3 separate regions of the Homo sapiens genome follow, and all the other regions are linked to region 2. Evidence: promoter capture Hi-C in 16 types of primary human blood cells and fetal thymus (Javierre and others, 2016). All regions are on one chromosome and are shown on one strand. The core of a region is centred on a gene start or on the middle of the fragment in contact, and the rest is flanking DNA. Distances in the headings are between cores, read along the strand shown. Region 1 holds the start of NKIRAS1 (NFKB inhibitor interacting Ras like 1). Region 2 holds the start of GBE1 (1,4-alpha-glucan branching enzyme 1). Region 3 overlaps UBP1 (upstream binding protein 1).

Region 1 (4,352 bases), core at 1,756-4,255, about 58 Mb before region 2:
ACCCTAAGAAACTGGGCAATAAAATTCAATCTGTGACCTATTAAACCTCACCTGATGTAAATTACTAAGAGAACGTGCTTAATAGGCAAGATTCAGGGCAGTCTTAAATACTTATTGCTTTACTTTCCAGGCTAATCAATAACATTGCTAGAGAATAAATACAACCTCCTCTCTCCAACTTGAGGCTAAAAAAAAAAAAAAACAGAGAGTAAATATATGACCTGGTCCATTCCTGTGAAATGCTTTGTCAACATTTTCTTTGAAGAGCCATCAGAAACAGCTCCCCAAAACCGTTATTGCTTCTGTTCTTCTATGTAAGTGGGCCATTCTATTTTTATAAGTAAAACACAACTTTCTGACGCAACCAGAAAAACAATACCAAAACACTGTTAACATCATAGGAGAGATGTTATAAATCTCTAAAAATACTGTCATGTGGGGAAACCACCTACACTGTGTATTTACTTATGTCAACATTATGTATAGTGTGGAATACTTTCACTTATCCATATATGAATATATTTACATACATAAAAATATATTCAACAGGTTTTGCACACAGTATTGCACAAAATAAAATGTAATAAAGCAGATTCTAGCTTACCATTCTTTTATTCATTTACCAAACATTTACTGAGGGCCTGCCATCATGCCAGCCATCAGGGACAAACTAGGGGGCAAAAACAGAAATCATCCCTTGTCCTCAGGAATCTCAAAATCAACTGGAAACACAAATCCAAATCTTGTAAAACTGTTAACTGAGAAACTACAAATTGAGAAACAAAACTGCAAATGTGATTGATAAATTAGCAGTGATTATTCACACTACTAGAATTGTTTTTCCAAATGATTCATCCAACTTTTTAAATTTTATTTTTACTGCTCCTTTAGGAGCAGGACTACGCCCATAGGCAGCGTACCTACAGTAGCACATTCAACTTTTTAGTCATCCTCACCTTTGAAATACATACAGGGCTGCACTACTTACCATTTTCATCACTACTGAAGTGGTCTGGGTGAGGCACCATGTTCTCTCACCTGGTCTCTCAAAGATATCGTAATCCCCCAAACCTGTGAATATGTTTACTTTACATACTCATACAAGAATTTTGCGGGGGTGATTAAATTAAGAACTTCCATACGAAGATATTATCCTGAATTATCTAGGTGGGCCCAGTGTAATCACAAGTGTCTTTATAAGAGACACACAGGAGTGCTGGAGAGGACAGAAGGTGTAATTGGAAGATGCTCCTTTGCTGGCTGTGAAGATGAAGGAAGCAGTCAGGAGCCAAGGAATTCAGGCAGGCTTCATAAGGTGGAAAAGCCAAGGAAATAAATGTACTCTCCCCTAGTACCTCCAGAAGGAACACAGCCCTACTGACTTTGGTTTTAGCTTGGTGATATTTACAGATTTACAGACCTAGTCTGATGTACAAACTAAAAGACGGTAAATTTGTATTATTAACCAACAAAGTTGCTGAAATTTGTTACAGGAGCAATGGAAGACTAACACAATTTCCTAAGCAGTCTCTCTGCTTCCATTTTTTCTCTCCTTTTAGCCTCAAAAGGAGCAATCCGAGTTATCTTTTTAAAATGTACGCCATATGAAGTCATCCTTCTGTTCAAAATCTGCCAATGAAATCCAAAGTCCATGTGAGAACCTTCACCTCTCCGACGTCATTTCCCACTTTCCCCTACTGTGAATTTCAGCCACACTGCTTCCCTGCTGTTCCTCTATTAATCTTGCATGCTCCAGTCATGGCTCTTCTCCCTCTGCCTGAATCAGACCCCTACTCTTACTCCCAGACTCCTATCCTTGAAGTCCTTTCTTAAATGTTACCTTCTCTCAAAGACTTAACCTGGACACTCCATTCCAAATTGCAACCCTCAGCCGCTAACACTCCCTCATCACTTCCCTCCCCTTATCTTTTTTCCTTAGCATTTACCACCAAACCCAAAACACAGCTTACTTCTGCTTACTGCCCATTTCCAAGAAGGCCAAAAATTCTGCGTTGTTTCCTGCTGCATCCCCAGCAACTATGCCTGGCACATATTAGACACTTAATAAATATTTGTTGAATCAATCAATGAACCAGATAGAGACTCTTAAAAACGTAAAGCTGTGATTTAAAAAGAAAGAAAGAAAAATATGATGTGGGAAAAAAGATAATCAAAACCGCTACGATTAAGAGATAATGATTCTCTTAAGCCTTTGCCACATCTGAACGCATAATCTGGAAGGAAATTAAAGCCACATGACTTAAATTAAAGCCAAGTGAAAATATTCTGGAGAAACAAAGTAAGCCAGTAACCTATTTCTCAATTTAAAAAAAAACCCGCAACGCAAAATGCCAGCATTTTCTCGGCATTTCTTCTCTAAAACATTCACACCTGCCAAACAGGTCTTGGCAAATAAACATTCTGCTCTTCTGAAAAACTGTGGTTCTCATGTTAGCAAATTTGGGACGAAATCCGTATGCAGAAAAAGCGCCGGGCCGCCCGCAATCCACCCACTCCATGACCCTTTTTTAGGACAAAATCCCTGGGCGCTGGGGCCTGCTGGAGGAGCTTCACGCAGTCTGGAGCTGAAGGGACACAGCGAGCGCCCCGACCCGCGACGCCCCGACTCCGCGAAGGCCTCCCTGGGAGGCTGGGGAAGCGTCGGGGGATCTCTCAGCGCAGCTCTGGGGCCCAGATTTCTGCGCCCGTCGTGCGGTGGCCAGAGAGGGACAGCGCAGCGCGGAGACGCGGAGACGCAGAGACTCCGCAGGGGGAGAGCCCGCGGTGCGTGAAACAAACCTGTTCTCTCCTCAGACCTCAAAGACAGCGGCTCCACCGCGGTACGCGGCCACCGGCTTTGGAGCCTGGACCCCAACTTGCCTCCTCTCGCGGAGAGACAGTCGCCGACGCTCGCTTAGCCGCCGAGACCTCGCCGCCAACTCTCTCACCTCTCGAGACGCCCAGGCCGCTCAGGCTCGAATCTTGCGGAGCAGGGGGCGGGACAATAGCGGCCGCGGCGCCCCACTCGGCAGAACTCCGCCACCAGGCGCGATGCCGGAACTACATGTCCCATGACGCTCTGGGAGGCCGCAGCTTTCCACCGGAAAGAGGGTGGCTGAGGTGGGGGAGGAGCCCAAAAGGCATTGTGGGAGTACAGCTCTTTCCTTTCCGTCTGGCGGCAGCCATCAGGTAGGCTGCGTTGAGGATCTTTGCTCTTCCATCCGCCTTTGATCGTCTTCCTCTTCAGCCATCCAGGTCCGGGGACCCTGCGTCCTCGGAGATAGGTCTCCCTCCTGTGCGGCCAGAGTTTGGTCAGGATGCGGGACAGCAAAGGGGTGGAGAGGCGGCCCCCGGGGCGGGTTGAGCGAAGATGTGATGGCGGCGCGAATTCGAGCTGGGCCCGGATCCTGGAGGAGGCGTGGGGCTGACGAATGGGGCGCCCGGGACAAGGCAGCCTAAAGTGAGGCTGCTGGTTGGGTGGGGTAGATGCATTTTCCTCGAGAGTTAATCCTCGGTGGCCGCAGCAGTACCTTGTCCTGTGATGTCAGCGGCATCTCCTTTCAGGTCCTCCTTGGGGACGCCGCCTGCCGCAGCCACCCGCCCCCTTGGTGCTCAGTTCTGGTTCTGTTAATTCGCCCCACCAAAACGTGCCGAGCACCGCTCTGTGCTGGGGTTGCGGAAGTGACTGAACGCGGCTCCGTGGGCGCAGTGGTGGGGGTTGGGCTAGCTGTCCCCGGCAGTTGGTGCAGAGCCATTTTCATTCCCGGCGGTTTCCTTGTTTTTGTTGGGGAACTAAGATGGACGGATACAGTCGTCTTATTGTACTTAAAGCGGATGATATTTAATACACAGTTTGATTTCACAGGTAAGCCAAGATGGGTGCATACAAGTACATCCAGGAGCTATGGAGAAAGAAGCAGTCTGATGTCATGCGCTTTCTTCTGAGGGTCCGCTGCTGGCAGTACCGCCAGCTCTCTGCTCTCCACAGGGCTCCCCGCCCCACCCGGCCTGATAAAGCGCGCCGACTGGGCTACAAGGCCAAGCAAGGTACGTGATCGACTGCGTGGATGCTTGGATAAAATTATATTCGAGAAAAGTTGGAAACCAGCTGTTAGGAAGACACTGCTGCCTCAGTGTCTTTCTTCGCATAGGGCTTTGGCAGAAAAAAGCTAGCAACACTGGTCAGTTACTGTATGCACTGTTGTCTAAAGTGGCAAGTGTGTCAAAGGTTACAAATCTGAATGAGTTCAGACTAAAGCAAAATAAACAGTGTGCCTCCCTGTGTGAGTAGCCTAAGGTGCATTGAAAAAGACTGGGATGTGTTTTATTTTTTTCTATTAGATAGCATTAAC
Region 2 (4,777 bases), core at 680-3,179:
GGCCTTTGTTCCCTTCATTAGTTTTGGCAAACCATGAAAGAAGATTATAAATGCTTCAATCCCAGTGGAGTTGGAAATAAAGTACATGAAAGAAACACTTAATAAAGAATGTTAATCTGTTTGTGTCATTTAAAAAAAAAAGGAAGGGGGTGTAGATAAAACATTTCCACAACTCTTCTTTAATAAATATCTTAAGTGTCCTTTTACAAAGCACACAGGTAAATTAATGTCATGGTTACAAGGACATCAAAAAAAAAATCTAACCACTACCTTTAATCACTATCTTTTGTTCTAAATTTTTTCTGACTATTTCTAAATCAAATCCAACCTTAAACCTATGACGATTATGCACTAAGTTTCTCTGAAAGCATATACTGTAAATTCTGAAAACAATTTCACAAGGCTGCTCCTCATATGGTTTATATAAGAGCATAATCATCTGATTAAGTGAGGGACAGCTCAAGGTGATTATTTTACAGAGGCCTCATTCACTACTATATACAAGCTCAAGAATGAAACTTCACATCCCTTACAATCCCTAGAGCAGTGTTTTATTTATAGGAGTTCCTCAATAAACACTTGCTGATTTGAATGCATTTAATACCTGAAAATGCTAGGACACAAACAATTTGCTGGGCTTTTTTCAAACTCCAAATCAACCCATTTTCATTACTCTCAACGCTCCTTCATGCCAGTTAACTAGTTGGATGTTTTCCATCACTCGAAAAATTGGCCATGTATATTCTGTTGCCAGGATAGTTTCCATTCTGCAGTGTCTCTCCTAAAAGGGGAGAAACTATTAAATCAAAATGGGGTAACCTCACAAGTATAACTATTACAACTTGTATAATAGCTCTTTTACTTCAAACAACAACGACAACAGAAAAAGACCTGTACCTTTTTAGTGGAACTTATGAATAGAATTATTAGCCCAGTAACTAAAGTTGTATGGTACACAATGGTAGAAGACAAGCTAAAACGACATTGGCCTGTAAAAGTTGCTTTCCTGACCTTTCTCCCTCTTCAAGATGGTTAAAGTCACACACGGACAAATGTTGATGTACATTTAACTTCTCAATGTTGATCCAAGGGGAGAAAAAATTGATCAATGTAGGTGTAATCTTCCCCTAAATGAGGAATATTAGCAAGGAAAAAACAAAAGGATATAGTGTCTGCCTGAAGGAATCCTCTTAGATATAAAATCACAACATTTGCTATGAAATAAACTAGAAAGTTTTAAATGCGTAATTACACGTGCCAGGAGTTATGCCCACGTTACTCCACAGGCCCACGCTAGTGGGTGCCAAAGTCAGAAAACCTGCAGCGGCGGTGAGTCACTCCCCAGCAGCACTCTGGGGAATAAGTGTTGGAGCCACAGCACGTACCCTATGGCGCAAGACCGCTGATTAGAACAGAGGGGAAAGGGGATGAGGAAAGAAGTTTCTTCAGCGCCCGCTCCGGGCACCAGCGCTGTCAAACCTGCCACTACGGAAGCCACAGAACCCGGTTACCCGAGTCACCCCGAGCCCCGCCCACTCAGGTTCCTCCCCGCCTGGGGCGGGGTTGGCGCGCGAGGGCCGAGGGGCGGCCCGTGTCCCGAGACGGCTCCTGGGAGGCGGGCTGCCTGTCTAAGTGGGGGTGGTGGGATTCCGGCGGTACCTGCGCTGGAAGTCCACGGCGTAGGGCTTCAAGTACGGGTCGATCTCCAGGAGTCTGGCCAGTTCGGGCACGTCAGCCAGGGCGGCATTGAGCGCCGCCTCGTAGTCCTCGGGCCGAGCCGCGGGAGTCATCGGAGCCGCCATATTCCGCCGCAGTCCAAGTAGCCGAGGCCCGAGAGGTCGAGTGGGGCCTGAGCGGGCGCTGGAGCTCTAGCTGGGACGCGGCGGCTAGGGCGGAGCCGGAGGGCGCCTAGGCGTGTCGAGGCAAGCCGAGGCGAGCCGCGGCGGTCCGGGGCCCTTTATAGCCGGGACGGAAGGCCTCCTGCCCTTTCTCCCCCCGCCAGCGGGGAGGAGCGGATCCCGGGGTGATGCCGGGACGCACGTCCGGAGCGGGTAGGAGGCACCGAGGCCTCTCCGCCCACTCACGCGGCTGGCACCTGGAGGCCGCAGGGACCTGCCCTTTCCTCCCCTTAACGGTTTTTTCCTGCTGGCGGAGGTCATTCTAGGAGGTGGGTCCCAAGCTGACCTCGCTCAGCCTTGGCCTTCCTCACCCTGACATATTCTTGGCTTTTCTTTACCCACTTAAGCACCCACTGACAGCGACCCCTTCAAATTGGACATAAGGGGTTTTTTTGGAAAGGACCGTATTTCTCAAAGTTCTGAGACTTTTGAGGGGCAGTATTTCAAACATATCATGTAAATTCACAGAGAGGGGAACAGTCAAGTGTAGCTAGAGTACTACTGCTGAAAATGTTAATACCTCTTACAACCAGGACTCTCCTAAGTTTGCCAGGTCACGTGAATTTAAAATTAACCAAGACACAGAATCCTGGAATACCGTTGGAATTCTGCTGTTCTGGTACTCTTTTCTGCATTACCAACAGCTAAGAATTTTAGCCATGGGAAGAACTTTTCTCATTCTCCGTAAGGCCAAAAAGGAAAAGGCATTTGCCTGTGTTTATAATTGTTAACAAGCTTTTCAACGATTAAACTACCTTTGATAACACAAATGATATCATTGAATTGGAACTCCACTCTGCCACTTACAGTGATAAGGCAAGAAACCTCTCTTCCTCTTGGCTTGGGAAGCTCCCACTTGGAATTCCCTTCTTTTATTGCCATTAACTGACTAGCTTCTATTTCAATAATTGCTTTTTAGGAATACAGAGTTGGACTCCAAGAGAGATGGACCCACCAAACCCAGGAGGGTCCAAGCTGCTTTACACCTAGAAACTAGAGAGGATTGAGGATATTTTTCTTGTTAAAACCCAGAACTGGAGGATCCTAGGGGTTATGGAGGAGAAACAGTATTAATCAGCCGTGGGCCTTGAATTTTAAAATATTTCAAAGGAAAGTTTTTATAAGGGGTTTCATAGACTTGAAAGATAAGTGGATATGAAGACAGACCTCAGTGTGAAAAAGTGAAGGACTTGAACGACTTTAAGACGTGCCTTGTTTTCCATAAAGATGACAAAAAACTGCTGCAGACATTTGTAAAATATAAAGCACTAAAAAAGGAAGAAAATTAAAAAAAAATAAAAACCCGAAGCAGGACAACTATTAATAACAGACCCACAGATCTACATCTCCAAGCCTAAACTTTTTTCAGAAACCCAGGCTTGTATCACTGCCTGTCTACTGAGATTTCCATTTAGCTGGCTAGGAGACCTAAACAAACTGTCTGCAAAACGTGACCTAGAATCCGTCTTCTCATCCTTCCTGCTGTCACTCTTATGCAGGCCACTGTTTTCCTTCACTTGGACCAGAATGTAGCTCTCTAACTGACTTCCCCTCTTCTACTCTTTCTCACCTCTACTCCATTCTCTGTACCAGTGTTTCTCACACTTTAATGTGCATATGAATCACCTAGGGATCTTAATTGAGTTCCGATGTGGTGCTTCAGATTGCATTTTTAACAAGCTCAGAAGTGATTCTGATGCTGGTGGTTGGGGACACAGTTTGGTGAGACTCTACACTGAGTAAATCAGACGATGTCATTTAGCAACTTAAATAGCATAGTATTTCACTTAGGGTAAAATAGAAACAGCTTATCATTCTCTAACAAGGCTTGTATAATCTGGACCCTGACTACCTTTCCAGCCACTTTTCTCATCATTTTCCAGTTTTACTATGCTCTAGTCACACTGACTTTCCTGGAACTCAGTGAATTTGTTGTATAATAGCCTCTAAGATTATTTGCTTGCTGTTCTCTCTGTTGGAAATTTTCAGGGAGCTGAGCTCTACTTGCTTAATTTTTTCCAAGCCTTCATTCCAGCCTCAGCAAAAATGTCACCTCATACCTGAGAAACTTCTGATTATAGACTCCTCAGTGTCTTCTGTATAACTTCAATCTCTTCTATGCAACAGTTAACAGAATCTAGGTGTTTGTTTTTCTCCTATTTATTGACCTTTCCCTTTAGAACCTAAGCTCCCCACGAGCACGATCCTAGCGTACATATCTGCCTACCTAGGTGGTTCACCATTGAGCACATATTTATTGAAGTCCCATGTGCCGGCCATTTTCCCACGTACTGTGGATAAATGATAAGACAAGTCCCAGTTGTCATACTCTATTGGGGGTAGGAGGGAGAGGAGACACAATTACCAGTGAAATACATAAAATAATACAAAACAATGTCAGATAGTGGTAAGTGCATTGTCGAGAATTAAAACTGAGCAAATATCTGTGTTAGTTCCGGTCGTCAAGAAAGGCCGTTCAGAACTGACATTTAAGCTGAAGTGTGATGACAAGAAGAAATGAGCCATGAGAGGAAGAGCATTCCAGAATGGCAGAGTTCGTGCAATGGAGGAATTGAATTGGTCTTTTAAAAAAAAAAAAAAATCTAGCATACCCGGTGTGTAATGAGGAGTGGCAGGAATTGTGGTGCAAGAGCTAGGCAGCTGTTCGTTCATATAGGCCCTTTAATGTCCATTTAAGGGATGCTATTGGAGAGTTTTCAGCAGAACACTGATATGATATGGTTTAATTATTAAAATATTCTATGTGGCAAATGAATTATAAGGATACAAGAATGGCAATAGGGGTGCCATTCTTGTGGGAGACAAGGGAGACAATTAGGAGGTGATTAACATTGCCTAGGCATGAAATGATGATGGCT
Region 3 (4,653 bases), core at 482-2,981, about 48 Mb before region 2:
TCTTGGATCACTTGAGCCAAGGAGTTTGAGGTTGCAGTGAACTTTGATCACACTACTGCACTCCAGGCCCAGGTGACTGGGCAAGACACTGTCTCTAAAAAAATTTAAAAATTATTTTGAGTAGGTAAGTGTCAAGACCACTGGTGTAATGGAGCTAAGAAACTGTGAAGCACACTGAGGGCAGAAATTAAGTCTCACCAATGGCTACAGGGGCTTAAAACGCTTGTCTGACATCCATCAAAAGCAATGGATACATGGAAAATAATCTCAACTACCCAATTATGTATCTCCTTAAAAAAGAAAAATGATTGCAGACTTATTACTTCTATTATCAGTCAGCTTTCAAAAAAGAAATCTAATTTAGCTGGAGAGCTTTGAATAAACTTATTGCATGGCATAGCAACTTTGCTATAAATTACATTTTACACAACAATGCCCATTCTTTTAAAATTAGGGCCTTTTAAGCCAGGTGTGATGGCACACACACACCTGTGGTCCAACTACTCAGAAGTCTGAGGCAGGAGGACTGCTTGAGGAGATTGAGGTCAGCCTTGGCAATACAGTGAAAGCCCATCTCAAAAAAATAAATAAATAACTAAAAAACTAGACCCTTGTTTTTCTTTCCACCTTACAAAGTATCACCTCCTCAGTTTACACTGTTTGATGAACCCAAGACCCTGTGAGCTGACTAGCAAATCTAATCATGGGTATCACACACTGTCACCTCACCTCTACTATCTGAAAGATTTTCCTGCTACAACATCCCCCTGCACATATAAAACATAACACAGCATAACATACATGTATAAATAATGTAAACCATTTAATATTAAAAGTATCAAGTCTCTCTAAACTTTTTGTAATTATTGCCAGCCATTTGAAGAAATGAAGCCATCAAAAAGCTTCAAGTTAGCATGGCAGAGTAATGTAGAAACACCAAGTTTACCAAAACTCCATAAATACCCATTTTGCTTTTAGATATTTAGATTCTTCTAACATTCGAAAAGCAAGCGATGGTGCAGTGCCTATGCTCCTGAATTCATAACGGCGCTAGCAATGCCTGGCCTGGGCTCATAGTTATGGTTTCGGTACACTGTGAACACAGTCCCTCCCCAGGTAAAGAATGATCACCCATTTTAGGCTGTAGAAATTGGCAGTCATCATTTGAGCCAATCATATACAGCTCAGAGATGAAGACCAACAGACACACTAAGAGTTTTGTTGTACGGCATCTCCTGGTAACCAACAGTAGTGACTATTCAGTGTGGCACCATTTCATTCGGCATCTTTTCGACTCTAACAGTAAGTCTGGATATCCCTTTTTACTGAAAGCCAATTGTAACTAGCCAAAAACTCTATGAAATGTTGGCCTTCCTTTGTAGGAGTTTGAAGAAACATATGAAATTCTGCAAACTTTCCTTTTTAAGTGACAATCTGTACCCTGCATTTTTAAAAACAGGTTTTCAAGATGAGCTCTAACCACCCCTAAAAGCATCTGAACAAAATCAAATACAGCCAGGGCAGTAAGCAATACATGAGGAAGATGTGAAATCCCAGGCCAGTGAACTGCTGACGTTTTGCATACTTTAGACTTAAGAATCATTAAGAATTTACCAACAGTTTTCCCATCTTCAGATTACCTCTGGGCTATAATGAATTTCTTTTATTTAGGAATTACCAGAACCTACTTCTTTATTAGTTAAATGGTTTATAACAGGAGAGGAAAAGTGAGTTGCCAGAATCCCCCCCAAAGAAGTTTACTAAGAACCATTGGTGGGTCTTCAGCTGAGAAATCAGAAGAGGATAAAAACAAAATTGCTGGGGCGGGTGTTTTAGGAAAGAATATACAGCTGTTTTAACAATCTTTGATTCGAATTTATTTAAAAAAAAAAAAAAAAGCCCAGTTAAAGAAAATGTAACGTGTGCTTCCAGTGGCACTAGGATGAGTACAATTTCAGTTTCATTGCATAGAGAAGCATTAAAACATTTTTATTCGATACTATAATTGGAAATGAGTTTCTTGTGATAGTGCTTGTGACAGTAACATTCAAAGTCTACATTTAACCACAGCAATTGCGATATGTGTAAGAATGAAAAATCCTCTGGTACTTTAATAGTGCAAAGACTGCAACAGTGAATACAGCAGTCACGAATACATATGATGACAATTATTTTAAATGATTCTTTAATGTTCTGTGTTTATATTTACTGAAGGTATGTAGCTGATCTAAGTTTGCAAAGCAGGATCATCGTTTGTGGACTAATAGATGAAGAGTCATGTCATAAAATAAAGATTTGCTATACTTAACTGGACAAAGCACATATTCAACCAGATGCCCCCTGACTGCATATTGGGGGCGGCCCAGGTCTAGGTGTAGCAAGGTACACTACTTTGGCCTGAAGCATTAATTCACAATGCAACTGCCAAGAAGAAACATGAATCCCATCAGAGTTTTTTTTTTTCTACCAGTGCTGCCAAACAGGCTCTTAGAAGCATAGACAGACACACATTTTTATACTACATGCAGAAAAATGTAACAAAGAACTGCACGTGTTAATGTCAAGCTTGCTGCCATCATCTAACTGTCCACAAAATTTTATCAAGTATACACATGAGAAAGCAAGACCCTTTTCAGTTACACAAAAATAATAGCTAATTTACTAAAGAAAGTATTTTCAATTAATTTCAGTGCTCTTGAAGGAGGTGTGTGTGTGAAGGAGAGAGGGAGGGAAGGAGGAAGGGAAGGAGTCAGGGAGGGAATACATATCTCTGAGTGTCTTTTTTTCCCTCCAAAACCACCCAATATGGTCAACATTGTTTTTTGCTTTGTTTTAAAGTGTTAGATTTAGGAAATTTTCCTCAGTGAGGAACAAACAGAAGCAGGAAGTCTAAACAAAAGCAAATTAAATCAAGACATGGACATCAAAAACAATTTTGGCTTTACTTTGCGGTGGAAGTTGGTCCTATATCTAACACTGCACAAGGTTTCTTGCACAATGAAAAGAGAAGCAGAAGTCCCTTACACTGCCTCGCTTTGCCAGAGAATCACCGTAGTCTGCTGGCAAAGTCCGCTTGCTGGACTTTTTCTGCTCATGTTCAACTGCATCTTCAATTATAGGCTCAAGCCTCATCTGGACAAACACCAAAGATTGGGATCAATGTCTTTTCATTATACAAAGAAAGATCTAACACCCTGTTTCATGTCTCTTCAGTCCAATTAAACAAATGCATGACTAACAGGATTCAAAGTTAAAAAAAATGCAAAACCCCAGCAGTGACAAAAATTGGACTTTCTAGGCTCCAACTTAAGTCTCTTGCCAACTTCAAAGTTTTTAAGGTCTGTTTCTAAGACCTCATTGGGATTTCAGCATCTTCATTTAAGATCCCACCCAGGAAACAGTCTATCAAAATCCCCAAATTTAAATATTTTCCCCAGAAATTTCACAGAGAATAACATGTCAAACTGCCACCCAATCTTCCCCAACCCTTTTGTAGCAGAACTCATCTTAGAAATAGACTAATATGCAACCTTTGCTTCTCTTCCAAAACCAAATGCTTTACTACATTACCTCTGTGAGGATTGTGGTATCATAGGACGGCTGATACTTTTCTTTTTCATGAGCTGTTCTCTTCTCCATCTTCTCTCGGTCAGTTTTTTGTTTCCTGTCTGCACCTTTAGGCTTAAAAACAAAGTATACTATTTCATCTATCAGGCTGCAGACACACAGCTTTACAGGCAAAACTGAGCCTTAATTACAGAAAACCCGGGTTCTCTGTCTTACCTTAAAAACTTTGATTTGGCAGCTAGCTGAGTGTAGATGATCTGTGTATTCTCCATTTTCATTCTGCTTAAAGGTGTCAACCTGGATCCTAAAGGGCACTCCCTTTTCACCTCCGTGCTTCCGTGGAGTAAATTCTGTGCTGATGCAGTGTACCTATAAAACGATTCAGGCTGAAATGGATTCAAAGAACTTCCACTGGTTATTTTTCTATTTTGTTCCCTCTTGAGTGACCTGACACCACTATAAATTCAAGATCCTTTAAAATAAACTCATCACACATATTAGCCAAATTATCTATGAACCTAATTGTTTTTAAGATATGGCTTCCCTCTCACAAATCCAACTGAGCCTCTCCAGACTTTCTGAGCTCTTGCCCATCACAGTGCCTCTCCTCTAATGCAGGACTTGGGTCCAATCAGGGGTACAACACTACAGTAGCTTCCTATGTATACTGCCCACCTCCACCTTGGACTGTCTGCTCATCTCAGACCCAGGGTACTAAGCCCTGTTCAATCCACAGCAATCTTCACTTCATTGTTTAGAGCTTCTGTTGTTTGCCCTCTACTGCCATTACCCCTATTCTACCCAGCCAACTATCTTACTGCTGTTCCTACAGATGCCAATTTGTGATACTTTGCCTGGGGAAATTTTACAGTCCAGAAAACCCACTACCCATCCTATTCTGTATCCATCTAAACTCTTTGGTCAACTCTTCAAAGTCCATTCAGGATCCAGAGGGCAATACTCATCTTCCACCACTCCTGCCCTGTCTCCTAATACCCACCCTGGATGACAGCCTTAGGGTTTCACACAGAGTTAACAGCAAGACCTTGGTCATTTCTGACTGCTGCACATCCCCCTCTTCTAATG

What was found. The method cuts DNA at HindIII sites, captures the fragments that hold promoters and counts their contacts. A CHiCAGO score of 5 or more calls a contact.
Region 1: a contact is called between the fragment with the promoter of NKIRAS1 here and the fragment with the promoter of GBE1 in region 2, in 1 of 17 cell types (naive CD8 T cells). The highest score is 6.2, in naive CD8 T cells.
Region 3: a contact is called between a fragment that was not itself captured here and the fragment with the promoter of GBE1 in region 2, in 1 of 17 cell types (non-activated CD4 T cells). The highest score is 5.7, in non-activated CD4 T cells.

Annotation. Positions count from the first base shown.
Region 1 is chr3:23,913,985-23,918,336 of GRCh38, forward strand. It overlaps NKIRAS1 (NFKB inhibitor interacting Ras like 1), which reads right to left and starts at 3,006. Exons shown (of 5, transcript NM_020345.4): 1 at 2,800-3,006. It overlaps RPL15 (ribosomal protein L15), which reads left to right and starts at 3,148. Exons shown (of 4, transcript NM_002948.5): 1 at 3,148-3,189; 2 at 3,866-4,047. The coding sequence starts at 3,876. RefSeq lists enhancers at 2,610-3,409, 2,661-3,860, 3,790-3,889. The HindIII fragment of the contact is 19,179 bases long and covers 1-4,352 here.
Region 2 is chr3:81,759,716-81,764,492 of GRCh38, forward strand. It overlaps GBE1 (1,4-alpha-glucan branching enzyme 1), which reads right to left and starts at 1,930. Exons shown (of 16, transcript NM_000158.4): 1 at 1,660-1,930. The coding sequence starts at 1,802. RefSeq lists enhancers at 1,209-1,378, 1,719-2,008, 1,795-2,403 and silencers at 1,479-1,558, 2,059-2,158. The HindIII fragment of the contact is 5,689 bases long and covers 1-2,631 here.
Region 3 is chr3:33,405,666-33,410,318 of GRCh38, forward strand. It overlaps UBP1 (upstream binding protein 1), which reads right to left. Exons shown (of 16, transcript NM_014517.5): 6 at 3,784-3,936; 7 at 3,571-3,681; 8 at 3,025-3,132. It also overlaps a transcript of FBXL2 not described here. Among named protein-coding and RNA genes, the nearest start is that of UBP1, 32 kb to the right of the region's middle. The HindIII fragment of the contact is 1,663 bases long and covers 901-2,563 here.